Linked DNA regions of Homo sapiens: regions 2, 3 and 4 are each linked to region 1. The links are contacts of gene promoters, found by promoter capture Hi-C in blood cells and fetal thymus (Javierre and others, 2016). All regions are on one chromosome and are shown on one strand. Each heading gives the region's core, a stretch centred on a gene start or on the middle of the fragment in contact. The rest is flanking DNA. Distances are from core to core; before and after follow the strand shown. Region 1 holds the start of TFPI2 (tissue factor pathway inhibitor 2). Region 2 overlaps COL1A2-AS1 (COL1A2 antisense RNA 1). Region 3 has its middle 140 kb from the start of COL1A2-AS1. Region 4 has its middle 180 kb from the start of COL1A2-AS1.

Region 1 (2,981 bases), core at 257-2,756:
AACTCCCCAAGGCTATCTCTCTGGGCTGCTATGGTTCTTCTCCAAAAACATAGATACATACAAAAACATAGCTTCATACATGCTTGGTTGGGGTGTAAAATGGTACAATCATCTTGAAAAAATCCTTTGGCAGTGTCTAACATTTCTAAGTATTTTATCCAAGAGTAATAAAAATTGCAGGTCCACACAAAGCAGCTTTTTTCATAAGAGCCCCCAAACAAACTAGAAACAACACAAATTCCAGTAATAAGACATTTGTGATATATTAGAATATTACTCAATGATTTAAAGGAACAGACTATTGATACACACAGCAACATATTTATACATTGTGGGATATTCATACGTTTTGGTAAATTCATACCTTGGACTACGCAGGAATTAAAAGAAACAGACTATTGATGCAGTGACCTGGGCGTATCTCAAAAACAGGAAGTGTGAGAAAGAAATACTACACAGTGAATACTTTATAATTCCGTTTATATGAAATTCAAGAATAGGCAAATCTAATCTATGGTAATCGAAATGAGAAGAGTGTTTGCCCCTGGCCTAAGGATGGAAGGATTGATTTAGGAAAAAGTCTGCAGGAGCTTTCTGGAGTGATGGAAATGTTCTAACTCTTTTTTTTTTCTTCTTCTTCTTCTTTTTCTTCGTTTCGAGACGGAGTTCCACTCTGCCGCCCAGACTGGAGTGCAGTGGCGCCATCTGGGCTCACTGCAGCCTCCGCCTCCTGGGTTCAAGCCATTCTCCTGCCTCAGCCTCCCGAGGGGCTGGGACTACAGGTGCCCGCCACCACGCCCGGCTAATTTTTTGTGTTTTTAATAGAGACGGGGTTTCGCCATGTTGGCCAGGCTAGTCTCGAACTCCTGATTTCAGGTGATCCACCCGCCTTGGCCTCCCAAAGTGCTGGGATTACAGGCGCGAGCTACCGCGCCCAGCCAAAATGTTCTAATTCTTTATTGGTGGCTACACAGTTGTCAAAATTTATCAAACTGTCCACCTACGATATATTATAAGCCTGTATTAAATGTAAATTAGAACTCGATTGAAATCTGTGTGTATAAATATAAATATACACTTATTTACATTTCTAATCTAATCTGAAGGTCCATTGCAACGAATCCCGCTCCGCTCTGACCCAAGAACTCCGCACTTTCTCTCCACCAGCCTTTCAAATACCTGAACTTCATGCCTTCAAGAGGTGGATTCCGGCTTCTTTACAGCGCAATCACTAGCAGGTCATTTCCGTCTAGCTTGCAGATTTCCCATTACTGACACAAACGCTCCCTCAGGGCGTCCCCGTCTGGACTACAGGAGAAAGTTTGGGAGGCAGGTTCAACTTTTCAACTTGGCGGGGAATTCCTCTCCCTCTTACACAGTTTGCAGCGCGGGGGCGGCGGGGTGACAGTCCCCGTGCATGAATCAGCCACCCCTCAGGCTCCGCCCCGGCGGGGGTCGGCCGGACGCTCGCCCCGCATAAAGCGGGCACCCGGGCCGCCTGGAGCAGAAAGCCGCGCACCTCCTCCCGCCAGGCGCTTTCTCGGACGCCTTGCCCAGCGGGCCGCCCGACCCCCTGCACCATGGACCCCGCTCGCCCCCTGGGGCTGTCGATTCTGCTGCTTTTCCTGACGGAGGCTGCACTGGGCGATGCTGCTCAGGAGCCAACAGGTATCTGGCCGCTCCAGGAGCTTCTCTCCCCAACCGGCGGAGAGGGCGCAGCGGGCCATGGGGCCCCGTGTAGGCGCCCTCCAAGCCTCGCTTTCTCCAGGTCCCTGCCGCGCGCTCCGCTGGCAGGGGGGACTCGCTCCCAAGTTTGCACTTTCTCTGCAGAGGCCCCTCCGCTCGGAAGGGGACAGAACTCCCCGGGATGTTCTTTCCTCCTAGGAGCTACGCCTGACCACTTTCCCTCTCTTTTGCTCTCCTTCTGCCCCTTCTTCAGGAAATAACGCGGAGATCTGTCTCCTGCCCCTAGACTACGGACCCTGCCGGGCCCTACTTCTCCGTTACTACTACGACAGGTACACGCAGAGCTGCCGCCAGTTCCTGTACGGGGGCTGCGAGGGCAACGCCAACAATTTCTACACCTGGGAGGCTTGCGACGATGCTTGCTGGAGGATAGAAAGTAAGTGCCCTGCGCGCACCCAGGACTCTCGCGCTCCTTGCGCCGGCGGCTGGTAGCAGCTTCGCCAGTTTCCCACGTCTCGCTTTCTACAGGAAGTTTTAGCCTGGGTTTTCTCAAGTGTTAAGCAAACCTCATGGTTTTCAGTTTCTTAAAAGTAATCACAAATTTACAACCACTAACACATTTCCTGTCTCCCAACTGACATTGATCATAATTCAGTGCCTGTGCGGACTCAGGGAAAGATTTGTTCCCTCACCATGGGGTATAATAAATGCAAGAGAATAACGTGTTAGGTACAACGTAAGTGCTTCTCTGTATTTTTCATTAATTCCAAACCTATGATTTTTATCTCTCCTGGAGTACATCATTTCCTTCTGTCGATTATCCATCAATCTGAAATATTTTTAGTGGATTTTATTATTGAAGTGTGACTTAGCTCATTATATAACTCTACTTTTGTCCCGATACCCAAACATGTGTTGGATTAGTTGCGGGACATGGTGGAGATTCATAATACTGTTATATTTTAATTTATTTTTAATTTTTAAATTATATCGGTTAAGGCCTGTAAGAGAACATGGGGCTTTTCCATTCAAGGAACTGAGCCAGGGGAAAATGCGTATTCATGTGAATAAGCTTTGATTCACTGCATATGTACAATCAGAGAACACCCAGAGAAAACAGAGAGTCTTTCTACTGAACTTGAAAGATACATCACAGCTGAGTCAGCTCTGAATACACTGTTAGAAAAAAAAAAAGTAAATATCTGGATTCATGGGAGTATTCTGGGTATTTACTATCCCAACACTAATACAACTTCTCTCCCCCCACAAAATGTTGCTGAAAATACAGTGATGGT
Region 2 (2,981 bases), core at 362-2,861, 480 kb before region 1:
CACAGAGAGGGGTTGAGCCACGCTGGCTTCTCTCTGGAAGGGAGGGAGGTGGAGCCACCACCAGGCAAAGCTCCAGCTGGTCAGCTATGTGGCACTGCTGCTATTGTTGAACAAAATTCTTTCCTCATTACATATCTCTCTTCTCAATTTAATAGAAAGTACAGTTCTTGGGATTTTTCTCTTCATGAACTTGAAGGAAATCAGAAATGAAAAGCTTATTTTCTCCTCATTTCACAAGGAACTAACTTGCTGAATGTATACCCTGACACTTGTTTATATAACATGAAGTCTAAGGACAGAGAAAAAAACCCAGAAACTTGATCAGTTCTATAGGATGAACATTCAAGCACAATCCATAATTTACCAATGAGAAGTCTGTTAAGGTTGACTTGCTGTTTTTAATGGATTCCGATTGAGTGGTGCTTTGCTTTAAATTAGTTGTGTGAATTTAATGATCAGCCTGATATTGTTCTCATCATATATGTTAAGGGCAACTTCCAGAGTTGGGACATTAATTTTTTGGGCAAATTGTTAAAAACTTGGCAGGAACAGAAATGAGAGAGGGGTAAAATGCCCTTTGATCATCATTTCTTTCATCTGTAAATTGGGGGTAATATTTTCAAAGCCTATTTAATAGAATGATGAACAGAACCATTATTTGTGAATTCATCAATTGCTCTTGAAAGTCAAATGGAAGGTGAGAGATGAGGATACAGTTTCATTCTCCTACATGTGGCCAGCCAATTATCCCAGCACCATTTATTGAGAAAGGTGTCCCTCCTTCACTTTATATTTTTGTTTGTTTTGTCAAAGATCAGTTGGCTATAAGTATTTGGGTTTATTTCTGGGTTCTCTATTCTGTTCCATTGTTCTATGTGTCTATTTTTATATCAGTACCATGCTGTTTTGGTGACTATGGCCTTATAGTATAGTTTGAAATCAGGTAGCGTGATGCCTCTTCTCACTGATATGTGGGAGCTAAGCTATGAGGACGCAAAGGCATAAGAATGATACAATGGACTTTGGGGACTTGAGGGGAAGGGTGGGAGGGGGACAAGGGATAAAAGAGTACAAATAGGGTGTAATATATACTGCTCGGGTGATGGGTGCACTAAAGTCTCACAAATCACCACTAAAGAACTTATTCATGTAACCAAATGCCACTTGTACCCCAATAACTTTTGGAAAAATAAAAAATAAAAATATAAAAAATAAAATAATAAAAATGTTTAAAGAGAAAATCACATGTAAGGGTTTTGCAAATTATAAATCAGTGATTCCCACCTGGAGTGGGGAGAGTGGAGGAATAGAAATGTTAGTCACCTCTTAAGACTATAGCCAGATTTGAAGGCATCAGTTCATATTTTCCCTTAATTTTAGGTGTGGAGGCTTCTAATTCCTGGCTAATATGGTGACAAAATAAGATAGAATTTGCATGATATGCATGATCAATTATCATTGAGTTGGCACTGTTACGCATATAGGAATTCTGGGTCCCTACCCCAGATCTGCTGAAACAGAATTTTCAAGGGTTGGCCCAGCAATCTGTGTTTCAGCAAACCCTCCAGCTCATTCCAACATCCACTCAAGTTTGAGAACCACAGATCTAATCTAATCCTGTTGACTACCTGGTCATATCACCTACTTGAAAAATGACAATAATTTTTGTCTCTCAGCATCTGCTTCCTTCTTCTCATCCTCCTTTTCATGGTCACTAATCATTTCCTAGAGTACCTTTTTCATCATGCCATTCCTCTTCTCAGAATTTCTAGGAAGCCACTGATGACCTACCACATCCATTTCTACAGATATTGTAGCTAAAAGGGGCCCTTATGAGGAAGTCAGGCCATAAAAAAAAAATATTCTGAGGCAGGCAAGTAGGGTGGGTGAGTGTGACAAATCAGGTTATAAATCCTCTACATCAAATTGGCCTACTTATATCTAGTTAAAATATGTCTGTAGGCAGCTTTGGGAAGTGGGAGATACAGGAAAAAAGGGAGATGCCACGAAAGGAAAACATACAAACTGGGGTATGTCTTTAGAAGGGGCAGGGAGACTAGGATCCAAGCCACTGTATTTTGATATTTGTCATTGTCAGACCTCTTTTTTGTTCTTTCTTTCTTGGAACTAGCTCAGTGGAGTGTATTAGTTTGCTAGGGCTGCTGTAACAAAGTATCACAAAGTGGGTCGTGTAAACCAGCAGTCCTCAACCCTTTTGGCACCAGGGACGGGGGTGGGAGGGGGATGGTTTCGGGATAAAACTGTTCCACTTCAGATCATCAGCCACTAGTTAGATTCTCATAAGGAACGCACAACCCAGATCCCTCGCATGCACAGTTCACAGTAGGGTTCGCGCTCTTATGAGAATCTAATGCCACGGTAATGTTCTCACCCTCGGCTTACCTCCTGCTGTGTGGCCTTGTTAAAGGCCAAGGACCTTGGCCCCGGAGTTGGGAACCACTGGCATAAACAACAGAAATGTATTGTCTCACAGTTGTAGAGGTTAGAAGCCTGAGATCAAGTTGTTGGGAGGATTGGTTCCTTCTGAGGACTGTGAAGGAGAGCGCTCTTCCAGGCATCACTCCTTGGCTTATATTTGACCATTTTCTCCCTCCATCTTCACTTCGTCTTTCCTTTGTGCCTGCCTCTGTGTCCAAATGTCCTCTTTTTATAAAGACAGCAATCATATTGGATTACAGCCCACCCTAATGACCTCATTTTAAATTGATTACCCTTTAAAAACTATATCTCCAAATAAAGTCACATTCTGAGGTACTAGGGGCTAAGATTCAACACAGGAATTTTGGGGGGCACACAATCCAGCCCATAACATGGCATTTCCACCTTTTCCTGTATGCTTGGGTGGTCCTACAAGGAGTAGTTTATAGGAGGGTAGTGAGTGGAACAGGTGCCATGCAGAAAAAAAAAATAAATAAATTTTTCACCTAGGGAACAGCTCTTGGTTAACTCTAATTTTAAAA
Region 3 (2,981 bases), core at 337-2,836, 370 kb before region 1:
GAACCCCTGTGAAAGAAATAGAATTCTCCCTATGTCTAATACCTGAGGCGAGAACTGAAAACCTGAACGGCAATGGAGGGAAGCTAACCCTGCCTAGGTGGAGAACTTTGTCTTAGGAAGCCAGGTGCTTGGGTTTTTACAACCTAGATGGAGCCAGGGAAGGAGGCCTTGGGTCGAGGCAAGTAAAGAAAGGTAAAACAGACCGTGCCTAAAGCCAAGACCTTAGGCATTTTCAGTGTAAGTTAAAAGGTATCATTAAAAAATCCACTCAGGCAGCTTGGGGTGATGAGAAGGAAAAGTAGAAGCTCTGAAAAATGAAGCCGTTTGGCGTCTCTCCTGGAAATCACAAGCTATTACCTTACTGAGTTTGGAGTTTTTTAACTTTACAATTCCTGCTTGTTTGGGAAATCCCAAGCCTAGAAATTAATATGCAGTTTGTCCAAAGAAAGTAAAAAGAAGAGAATATAAAGGAAATGAATAAAAGTTAAAGAAATAGAAATAGAAAAAAAGGAAACAATATTGAGTGTCAATAAAGCCAAACATTGATTTTTTGGAAAGATAAAATAGGAACAATTTGAGTAAGACTAATGAAAAAAGAAAGAAATTAGACATAGATAAATTATATTAGGAATAAAAAAAGACAATTGCCGTGTGTGTGTGTTTGTGTGTGTGTGTGTGTGTGTGTGTGTGTGTGTGTGTCCAGAAGCTACCTTGGTGATAAACATGAAAGCTTTAGTTAAAAAAATAAAATTATAGAAAAATTGCCAAATTTGCCAAAATGACTAAGGAACTTTGTAATTGTTAAAGAAATTTATTCAGCAGTTAAAAGTAAATCCAGATGAAATTTATCAGACTCCAAGGGCTAAACGAGCAAGTGCTACAAATTTGAGAAATATGTAATTTCTTTTTAATATAAACTCATCTAGATAATAGAAAAAAAGAAATCCTCCACAACTTGTTCTATGAGGTTGATAAAAATGTGAAACCGAGGTTTTCAGAGCTCTAGTACCACAAAGGAACAATTTGTCAGAACTGTAGTATCACAGAGGAAAACTGCTAGCTGATTTCATTTATGAAAATGATGCAAAATCAATCATAAATAAAATATTAACAAAACAAGGCCAACAATTTATTAAAATATATAGCATGACCAAATGGGGTTCATTTTCGAAATGCCAAAATGATTAAACATTAGACCAACATTTATTAATTTTGTTTACCATATAAACAGATTGAAGATGCAAATCAATTATCTCAACAGATTCAGAAAAATTACTTGATAAAGTTTAGTACTCACTCAGGGTAAAAAACAAAGAAATCTGTAAATTTATAATAAAATTGAAAAATGAGAAAACTTCGTTAACCTGATATAGAATATCAACCCAAAACTCTCATAAATATTATACCTAGTAGAGAAACATTAGACGCTTCATCTAAGTCTCTTGTAAATGATGCCTGCAATTACCATTTCATTTAAATATTGTACTGGAGATTTTAGTAAGTGGAATAAGACAAATTAGTTAATTAAAAAATTTTAATGTGAAAAGATCAGAAAGGAAAAAATAAAATAATCATTATTATTGATGATATAATTGTCTACATGGAAAAATGTATTAATAAGAAAATTTATAAACTGTTCATACCAGCAATAGTTAAGCTAAATTCCTGGATGCAAGAGCAACATACAAAATCATTACTATATCTTTACACCCTCCCTAAAATTTAGTAAATGTACTAACATTTACTTAGTATTGGAGGGTGACAATTCTCCAATTAATTTATAAAGTAAATTTAGCTTTACAGACTTCATAAGAAAATGCAAAGTGTTATACAAAAGTAAAGATGGTTGAGAATGGTTTAAAATATTTTTATAGAAAGAAATAGAAAATGAGGTGTAGGAGGAGAAGGAGAAGAAAAAGAAGAGATTCACCCCACTCTGAGTAAAACTTACTTTACAGTCATATTAAATGAGATGGTGTTATTGATATGGAGACAGAAATAGATCAATGGAGAAGAATCTGGAGCCTAGGAACAGACTCATCTCCCTATGAGAACTTTGTGTAGAGTGGCCTTATAAATCCACTCATCAGTAAGCAGTGCTACAACAACCGGCTATCCACAGAAAAAAGAATGCTAGATTTCTCTTTCATACCATACACGAAAATAAACTGCAGCTAGATTAAACAATAAATGTAAAAAGTAAACCTTTAACATTTTCAAGAAAAGATAAAGAACAATATTTTATGACTTCAGGTAAGAGATATTTCTTAAACAACAGACAACTATTAAAGAAATAGTGTTAAATTTGGCTTCATTAAATAAAAAACCTGTGAATGACAAAATATTCCATAAAAGGAGCAAAAAAGCAATCTACACAGAAAGAAGATATTTTCTATCTATATAACTGGCAAAAGAATGGTATTCAGAATACATAAAAGCTTTCATATATCAGTAAGGAACAGAAAACAACCCATTTAAAAGTGAGAAAAGGATATGAAAAAGCAATTCACAGAAGGGGAAACTAGAAGATTTCATAAATATATGAAAAGATATTCAACTGCACTGATACATAGAGAATATATATTAGAATAATACAAAATACTATTTCATCCCAAGAGATAAGAAAGACAATAAGTCTGTTATCACCAAATAATGGTAAAAATGTAAGTAAACAGAACACAGGTAATGCTAGCAGAGGATAAATTGGTACAACCACTTTGGAAAACAATATTTCATCAATTAGTAATGATGGAAATGCATGCATCCTGAAGTTCTAAAATTCTATTTCTAGTTACACTTCTTAGAAAAACTCTCACACATGTGCACAAGGGGTCATCCACCGGGATTTTCACTGCAGCACTGTTTACAAAAGTAAAAAAAGTGAAGACAATATTAACTGCTTCTTGGTAGGGAACTGGAGAGATAAGCTGGGTTTATTTATACAATGAGTGTTGTACAGCAGTTAAAATGAATTCACTAAA
Region 4 (2,981 bases), core at 287-2,786, 320 kb before region 1:
TGATTTGGTGTTATAATTTTGAAAAAGGGACAAATTTTTTGTTATGCATTTATAGGTGACATGCATTCACACACACACACACTCACGTTTCCATATCTTTAAGGTCTCTTCTTCTTCGACATCTTGCAGCAAAAACAATGTTTTGGGTCTGAAATACATATTGATTCATGTGTTTCTTCACACGGAAGTATGTGATATCTCATATTAGTTTGTAAACTCTGAGCCAGTTTAAAAGATAAATTGTAAGAATGAAGTGCTTAAAAACTGGGACAAACAATGAGAAATATGAAACTTTGATAATTCTTCAGAAGGGAAGCAGAAAGAGTTCTGGAAATATAAGTTAAAGTAATTAAGATTTTTTCCATGTTTATGAATTAAGTAGGCACCTTGAAAACTGCATCTGGGAGGCAGTTTTCCCTAGCATACTATGTGTTTAGCAAGAAGGAGCAAAGGAGAGGTGGCTTTGCCTAAATTTAGGGAACAGTGGTGGATTACAAAAGACATTGAGGAGAAGGGGACTCTTGAGGTGAGCTTCGATAGGTAGGAGTTAGCCAGGCAAAAGATTACTATATGAATAAATGGCACAAATGGGGTTGGTAGGGAAGTATCACACCAATTAGGAAATTTACTTTCTGGAAAGAATAATAAATGGTGTTAAAATAAACAGAGATAAGTCCTGAAAGGGGTTAGAGTTCTCAGTTGATACCACTGATACTAATCACCAAAGCTTTTGGTGTGAGGTTTTGTTTATGGTTGGTACACTATTGAATCCCTGCCTTAAATTAAGATAAAGATACGTTTCATCTTCCTTTTATTGCATGTCTACCTAAAATTGCAACTGCTGGCATTTATATTTTCTGTCTGGTGGTTCTACTCAACAGGGAGTCCTCAACAGCAAAAATTGGATTATGCGTATTCCCTGAGTGGAGCTTAGTGCCTGGTATATTGTATGTGGACTCTAGAGATACATGGAAGTGAATGAATTTGTTGGCAATTGTGTGTGTGTGTGTGTGTAGAGGTGTTTAGGGGCAACTTTCAACTCTTTTTGAGAAATGTGGACACATGGGGTAACCAGCAAATAGAACCCCATACCCTGATGCTTCCATGCTTCCAACAGAAACATGGAGAAAAAGATGACAAATATTCTAGGATAGACCATTGCCAAAGAAAGAAACTGTGAGATTGGGTTTTCTGAGAACTTAGGTAGGTAACAGAATTGAAATGGGTGTTAAGCTAGAGATTTGAAGGAGAGCAAAATCCTGACATTCTTTAAACTATTGAATTGTAAGTTCCCCAAATTTAAAATTCTCATTACATACAGTAAATTCCATATTTCTGCAATTCACTGGAAACTTAGGAGATATGAAATACCATTGATTGAGTTCTGGGACTGAAGGAGAAAGAATGCCTTCCTGTGGTCTTCTGGTTCTCAGTAGTAGTAAACATTAGGGACCAGAAATTCTGAGGCTTGAGAATAGAATATAAACCCCATGGATCGTAGCAAGGATCAAAATTGCCAGGATAGCTTTTCAAAATAGGTATAACTGAGCCCACCTTCAACACTTAAACTGAATCCAAGCATGTGCATTTATGAAGATATTTCACAATGGATGTTTATGTATAGCCCTGGATGAGGACTATTGATAAAGCATATACAAATAACAACACAGTGGCAACAATAACAACAGCTGCTGTACAGCTTATAAAACATTTTAAACTACATTATTTTACCTAATCTTCATAATAACCCTGTGAGATAAGTAGTGCTAACCCATTTTACAAAAAGAGAAGCTGATATTTGGAGAGGTCCAATAAATTTCCCATCTCTGTAGAACAGCAGAGGTACTCTCAATCCCAAGTATTCTGACTTTTCTAGTATCAAATTCTTCTTGGCACAAAGTATTTTACATCATACTGATCACATTTGAAATATTCCTTTTTCCCATCTCATTCACCATAATTCCTTCCTTATATGTATCCTACTCAGTGGAATCCCACTTTGGAAAGCTGTTTTCACACAGATATATTGGCAGGATTCTAGAAAGTTTAGTTTGGTAACTCCACTTTGGAATGAGCAACATTGACAATGATATCACTTTGATAACTCCATAGTAATATTAGCAAAATGATATTAAATATTTTAATTGCAAGAAATATACAGGGGTTTCCAATTTTAAATTGGAAATTTAAAATTTAAAATATCCAACTTTAAGAGAATTCCAGTTGCCAGATTAATGTTATACTAGTATCGGAGGAAAGTAATTAGCATTAAAGGCTAATTCTTTCCTTGCCTCACAGTTACACAATATGGTGACTAGATATTAACTTTTGAAATCAAAGCTTCAAGAATGGATATACAAATGTTCTTATTGAGCAATTTCAATCCCTGGAGAAATTTCTCAGAAAAAAAAATTGCCTTCCTGAATTAGGAGCTTTCAAATATCAGTCAAGAATTGGAGTATGTTTCCATTTATATTCTAAAAGTGTTTACAGTAATTCCTTGTTGGAGAAGTCCTTCAGTCCTTTGCCTTTTGTCTTCCCTCGCAGTGCAAGCTTTCCTTTCCACAGAGGATTTTCTATACTCACATTTTTTCTTTTGCATTTACTACATTTAATATTTCTTTCTATAATCTTGCTTTTCCTCTGTGTATTTACAGCTCATTACTTTTCTTTCCATGGAATTAATCTACATAGAGTAATGTCCCTTGATGATTAATTATTTAATAATAAATTATTATTAATGTAATCTTGATTTTAACAAAAATCTTTTTAGACAATTCCCAAAGTTTCTAGAGGTCAAAGAGAACAAATTCACAATTTAATCACAGTGCACAAAAATCATGGAGGCAGCACATTTGAATGAGACATACCCTAAAGGATTGACCACAAGATATTTAGGCATTATTCAGTGGCAGCTTTAACTTAGAGCTAAACTAATACAGCTCTCAAGTGAAGTCTCAGATTAGTCCGATTTGTTTTGA

Evidence for each region. Contacts are between HindIII fragments. The CHiCAGO score rates a contact against its expected background, and 5 or more counts as called.
Region 2: a fragment that was not itself captured here is called in contact with the fragment with the promoter of TFPI2 in region 1 in 1 of 17 cell types (M2 macrophages); the score reaches 5.1 in M2 macrophages.
Region 3: a contact is called between a fragment that was not itself captured here and the fragment with the promoter of TFPI2 in region 1, in 2 of 17 cell types (endothelial precursors and M1 macrophages). The highest score is 5.3, in endothelial precursors.
Region 4: a contact is called between a fragment that was not itself captured here and the fragment with the promoter of TFPI2 in region 1, in 1 of 17 cell types (endothelial precursors). The highest score is 6.8, in endothelial precursors.

The regions. Positions count from the first base shown.
Region 1 is chr7:93,889,278-93,892,258 of GRCh38, reverse strand. TFPI2 (tissue factor pathway inhibitor 2) reads left to right here and starts at 1,506. Exons shown (of 5, transcript NM_006528.4): 1 at 1,506-1,668; 2 at 1,940-2,122. The coding sequence starts at 1,581. TFPI2-DT (TFPI2 divergent transcript) reads right to left here and starts at 1,365. Exons shown (of 2, transcript NR_134235.1): 1 at 1,180-1,365. The HindIII fragment of the contact is 7,194 bases long and covers 1-2,760 here.
Region 2 is chr7:94,371,460-94,374,440 of GRCh38, reverse strand. The region is part of intron 5 of COL1A2-AS1 (COL1A2 antisense RNA 1); the gene reads left to right. Among named protein-coding and RNA genes, the nearest start is that of COL1A2-AS1, 19 kb to the left of the region's middle. The HindIII fragment of the contact is 2,789 bases long and covers 217-2,981 here.
Region 3 is chr7:94,254,798-94,257,778 of GRCh38, reverse strand. No RefSeq gene overlaps it. Among named protein-coding and RNA genes, the nearest start is that of COL1A2-AS1, 140 kb to the left of the region's middle. The HindIII fragment of the contact is 1,708 bases long and covers 733-2,440 here.
Region 4 is chr7:94,205,867-94,208,847 of GRCh38, reverse strand. No RefSeq gene overlaps it. Among named protein-coding and RNA genes, the nearest start is that of COL1A2-AS1, 180 kb to the left of the region's middle. The HindIII fragment of the contact is 1,613 bases long and covers 730-2,342 here.